Regions from separate parts of the Homo sapiens genome. Here region 2 is linked to region 1. The links are contacts of gene promoters, found by promoter capture Hi-C in human tissues and cell types (Jung and others, 2019). All regions are on one chromosome and are shown on one strand. Each heading gives the region's core, a stretch centred on a gene start or on the middle of the fragment in contact. The rest is flanking DNA. Distances are from core to core; before and after follow the strand shown. Region 1 holds the start of QSOX2 (quiescin sulfhydryl oxidase 2). Region 2 overlaps NSMF (NMDA receptor synaptonuclear signaling and neuronal migration factor).

Evidence for each region. Contacts are between HindIII fragments. The study calls those that stand out against the background at their distance.
Region 2: a contact is called between a fragment that was not itself captured here and the fragment with the promoter of QSOX2 in region 1, in 1 of the 25 tissues and cell types used here (spleen).

The regions. Positions count from the first base shown.
Region 1 is chr9:136,244,511-136,247,210 of GRCh38, reverse strand. It overlaps QSOX2 (quiescin sulfhydryl oxidase 2), which reads left to right and starts at 1,399. Exons shown (of 12, transcript NM_181701.4): 1 at 1,399-1,735. The coding sequence starts at 1,408. RefSeq lists silencers at 1,162-1,431, 1,462-1,871. The HindIII fragment of the contact is 9,280 bases long and covers 1-2,700 here.
Region 2 is chr9:137,445,179-137,447,878 of GRCh38, reverse strand. NSMF (NMDA receptor synaptonuclear signaling and neuronal migration factor) reads left to right here. Exons shown (of 16, transcript NM_001130969.3): 16 at 1-309. Among named protein-coding and RNA genes, the nearest start is that of MIR7114, 3.6 kb to the left of the region's middle. The HindIII fragment of the contact is 6,315 bases long and covers 1-2,700 here.

The DNA of each region.
Region 1 (2,700 bases), core at 150-2,649:
GGCTCCTTGCTGTTCCTCCAGCGTGCTCAGCACCCTTCTGCCCCAGGGCCTTTGCATGTGTGCCTCCTCCCTCACCTCCTTCTCCATTCGGGTCACCTTCTCAAAGACCTCCCCACCCTCCTCTGTACGGCAGCCCTGCTGGCACCTGCTTCCGTGTCCGGCTTCATTGCTTTTCATAGCACGCGGTGGCTGCTTTACGCGTTGGTTTGTTTGGGGTCTGCCCAAATGCAGGCCAGGGACACTGGGGGCTCGGTTTTGTTCTTGATTTGTCTCCAGGGCTTGGCACAGAGCAGAAGCCAGGAAACGTGGGTGATGGAAGGAAACATGAACAGGGAGACGCAGGACGTGAGGAAAAGGGAGCAGACGCCTTGGCCAGGGGCCCTCTGGGGAGAATCCTCTCATCTGGGGTTAACCATTGTTAGCAGCAAAACCTTTTAAACAAAATCTTACACAGAACCCCACAATACAGTTATCTATTTATTTTGAGACAAGGTCTCGCTCTGTCATCCAGGCTGGAGTGCAGTGGCAGAGTCACGGCTCACTGCAGCCTCAAGCTCCCAGGCTCAAGCCATCCTCCACCTTAGCCCCTCAAGTAGCTGGGACTACAGGTGTGCACCACCATGCCCGGCTTTTTTCTTTTTTTTAAGAGATGGGCTCTCGCTATGTTGCCCAGGCTCGCCCACTCCCTTGTTTTGTTTTGGTCACACAGTTCAGAGAAAATCTTGACATGTGTAAAAATTAGGAATAGGAACAAAAAAAAAAATCAGGTATCCTGTTCAATGAAGCAAAAAAGTCATATGATTTCATTTCCAAACCGTGAAGCTGCATTCGACTGGAACATCCTAAAAGGTAGCACACAACACATCTGACTTTGAGTGGATGTTTTGCTGCATTTTCTAAGCGTTCCAATATCATATTAAAAAGTCGAGGCTGGCTTGCAGACCCTCTGAAGCCCCAGGTGGGGTTGCCAAGTAAAAGAACCCCGGAATAGTTTTTTACGTCTAAGAATGTCTTGTTAAATTTGTATTTCAGGCATGGCACAGACCTAGGCTGAAAAACCGACTCACTGTTTGTCTGAAATTCACGTTGAACCTGGCGTCGTGCACTTCCATTTGCTAAATGTGGCCACCTGGCCCTGTTCAGGGAAGGGGTTTGGGGAACGCGCGGCGGGGTGGGGCGGGGCCTGGGCGGAGCCTGCCGCGCCTGGGCGGGGAGATGGCGTCATCAGACTCTTGGGGGCGGGGCTGCCACGCATGGGCGGGGGCGGGGGCGGGGAGAGAGGGCGGGGTCAGACGTGAGGGGGCGGGGCGGAACAGAACTGGGCGCGCGGGGGCGGGGCCGGGCGCGCCGGCGCACGTGACGGTGGTTGCCAGGGTGAAAGTTCAGCGCGCCGGCGGCACTTCCAACATGGCGGCGGCCGGGGCGGCGGTGGCGCGCAGCCCGGGAATCGGAGCGGGACCTGCGCTGAGAGCCCGGCGCTCGCCCCCGCCGCGGGCCGCACGGCTGCCGCGGCTGCTAGTGCTGCTAGCGGCGGCGGCGGTGGGGCCGGGCGCGGGCGGTGCGGCGCGGCTGTACCGCGCGGGCGAGGACGCCGTGTGGGTGCTGGACAGCGGCAGCGTGCGCGGGGCCACCGCCAACAGCTCGGCCGCGTGGCTCGTGCAGTTCTACTCGTCGTGGTGTGGCCACTGCATCGGCTACGCGCCCACTTGGCGGGCCCTGGCTGGGGATGTGCGAGGTGAGGCGCGCCCCCGCGCGGGGACCCCCCGACCCCCGGGACCGCGGCCTTCCGGGACCCCTTGCGACCGCCCCAGAAGGCGGGTCCCGGGGCCCCTCCCCCGTATTTCTTTCCTTACCGCAGAGCCAGTCCCTGCCCCACAGAGGCACCCGACTCGGACCAACCCTGGCCTTTCCAGGGGCGGGAGACTAAGCCAGCTGCTCCCCATGTCTCTCCCAGTTAATCCCCGTTAGATCCTGACGAGTTGGGCTGTCTGAAGTCAAAATGAAACCATTCTCCCGCAGCCCTCACCGCACGCTTGGGGATAGGGAAGCCCTCCCGTATCCCAGCTCTCAAAATACCTATGTTTTGAGCCCCAAGAACTTCATTGACCTTCCAGGCCTCCTACCCTACCTGTTTCCTAGCGTCCACACACCCCATCCCCAGTGCCCAGAATTCCTGTTCTCTGAGGATCCCTCATTCCTATTCCACACTCGTAGCCACCCCATTCCCTTTGAACCTTCATCATTAACTTTCTGGTTCGGATCGCTGGCCATATAGTGGGTGCTCAAAGTGAACCCACAACTTAGAAGTCCAAATACTCTGGAGACTTCTCTATAATACCCCAAAACAACCTATAAAGCAATTTTTTTAACTCTACAAAGAATTTCATTGGTGGGCTCCTTGATCACAGATGCACAGCCTTTGAGAAATCTTTCACCAAACTGCTGGTAGTGTTCCGCACTTTATTGTTTAGTGCTTTCATCTGGTCGCACGTTGTTAACCAGTCACGAAGTTACTCGCCTGCTCTACAGGTTAGAGTTGGCGTGGGAGGGGGCATTCACAACACCCTTCCCTTAAAATGGTATTTAAATCACTGAAGTAGGAGGTCCTCCCGACCCAGTGAGGTTTGGCAGGACTTCCTGTGTTGTGCTAACCTCAAATTACATGTTTCAGTGGGCAAGATCTGTAACAAATTGCTACTC
Region 2 (2,700 bases), core at 145-2,644, 1.2 Mb before region 1:
TGGGGGCCACTCTCTCAACCTCAGGTGTCCTCAGGGCCCAGACCGCTGCTGGGCACAGCCAGGCTGGCTGCCAGCTGGTTCCCTGCCCCGTGGCTGGGGGACAGAGCAGCACGTATCAGCTGGGCTAGGGTCAGGGGGCCACTGGTGCGCAGCCTGGCACAGCCTGGCAGGCTTGAGGCCCAGTGTGCTGGGGGTGGTCACACAGCCGTCAGCCACCTCCAGCTCTTCCAGGGCATTCTAGATGGGGTCCCGGGAGGGGGCAGGTTTTGGTGCCAATTTGAGTGTATAAAGTTTTAGGTAAATACCAAATGCCTGTAGACTCTGTGTTATTCAGTTACTATTTGAAAGTGACATATCGTGAAATCATGGGGGATCCGAGTCTCCTTTCTGCAAAGTTGATGAGACAAGTCGCCACCGCCTGGAATCTGCTGACGCTGCCGTGCAGGCCTCAAGGGTGGCACTCTTCAAAGTAGGACAGCATGCGAGGTCGCCACGTGCCCACACACTGCACTGCTCCAAAGGCACATCTGTCCGTCACCTGAGCTCTGAGACCCAGAACAGCCACAGGGACCCTGCAGTCCTAACCCGTCAGGTGGCTCCTGGGGCTGCTGCCAGCCGCATGCCTGTCCCACACAGTCCGGTCCGTAGGGTCTGCTGGAGTGAGTAAGGCCTGGGGGGCCTTATGTATGGTCCATGAGGTTCCATTCCTCATGCCATGACCACCGGGGGAAGTGAAAGGAGGAAGACACGTCAAAGCCAGCAGGCCCAGGAGCAGACATAGAAGGAGGTGGCCCCACAGGAGCAGACGCAGAAGTGCCAACGGGGAAGGAGGTGGCCCCAAGTGGAGGCAGGCTGGGCCAGGGCGGGGGGCCGGTGACCAGGGCAACCTCGGCTACTTTGCTGCACCCGCCCTCGCCTCCCTTGAAATACAAAAACAGCAGCAGCCAGAAATAGTTGGGGAAGAAATAAGAAATATTTGCCACACATGGGAGTGATTAAGGTCCTTAATATTTAAAGAGTTTTTATATGTTGCTAAAGAAAATGACAAAAACCGATATGGAAAAGTGAGCAGAGATGTGGAGAAATCATTCGCAGAGCAGGAAACTGGCTGGTAATTCCATGAAGAAAGTCCTCATCCCATCAGGAATCATGGAAAGGCCAATGAAAGCGACGAGGTAACCCCCTTTTCAATTTGAGAGGGTTTTGATCTGTCGCGCAGGCTGGGGCTCACCGCTGTCTTGACCTCCTGGGCTCAAGCGATTCTCCCACCCGCTCAGCCTCCGGAGTAGCTGGGACTACAGGCATCACCACGCCTGGCTAATTCTTTTATGTTTTGTAGAGACAGGGTCTCACTCTGTTGCCCAGGCTAGTCTCAAACTCCTGGCCTCGAGCAATCCTCCTGCCTCCTCAGCCTGTTACAGCTTTTTTTTTTAAGGTAATCTGGTAACAGCTCTTAAAAGTAGTGTGACTGATGAGTGCACAAGCCCGTCCAGCCCCAGCCGCCCCCTGGCACCTTTTCTGAGGGTGTCTACTGCCCCGCTGTGCTGTGCCCGCTAATCTGGGTGTGGCCCGATCGCACAATGGCTTTTCTGGAAGGATCCGATGCTCACGAGGCTTATTGCTAAGGAGGAAGATGCAACAGGTCCAGCTGTTCCAAGTGACTGGGTCACGCTTCACATCGATGTGCAATGTCTCCTGCCACCTGCCTGGATGCACTCTCGTGACTACCTGGCAGGCTGGGAACAGCACGGGGGAGGCCCCCGCCTGCCCCAGCGACCTGCCTGCCCTGCTCTCAAGTGCAGACCCCCAGGTCTGCACTTCCACGCTCACTACACAACCCCAAGTGGCCCCCCGGGTGGCCCCGTGGCCGGATGTGCACCCAGCAGAGCAGCCACCCTTGAGACCTGGGGTGTGGTCTGGGGGCTGTGTGGAGACCTCCCGCCAGGGTGCAGGAGTGTCTAAGGGCAAGCAGAGGTGTGATTCCTGTCTGTAAGGTAAAACCCCCGTGAGCAGGAATCAATAATGTAGACATGATCGGAATGGTGGAGGGAGCTGTGGCGGTCACACCCTTGCTGTTAGCATTGCCTCTGTGGGGGCAGGAGACAGCAAACATAAAACCTGTCCCTGAAAGGGGCAAGATGGCCCCGATGGCTCCCTGCACCTGTCCTGGTGCCTGCAGGCAGGCGGGTCAGCTCCCCTCCCGCTGCCAAATCTCCCACGTCTCTGTGCGCTCTGTCACCCCTGCTTTCTGGCCTGAGGGCTGGGAAGGGAGGTCTGGGGAGCCCAGGAGCTGAGAAGTACCCAAAAACCACCCCCAACGCCCCCCAACCCTCAGGCGTGCCTGTGAGTGTGTCTGTGTGTCTCACTCTGACTCACCCAGACAACTGACTTCAGCAGCCAACCTTGGTCATTCCCAGAACCACCACTGGGGGGCATACGTGTGGCTAGACTGGGGGCGCCCGAATATCTGTCTCTACAAAAAGTAAAAAAAAAATTAATGGGGTGTGGTGGTGGTGCGTGCCTGTGGTGTCAGCTGCTTGGGACGCTGGGGCAGGAGGATCACTTGAGCCCGAGAATTCAAGGCTACAGTGAGTTAAGATTACGCCACTGCACTCCATCCTGGGTGACAGAGCAAGACCTTGTCTCAAGAAAAAATTTTTAAATGAGTAAAATTTTAAAAAACAGATTTTGTCAGTCTTT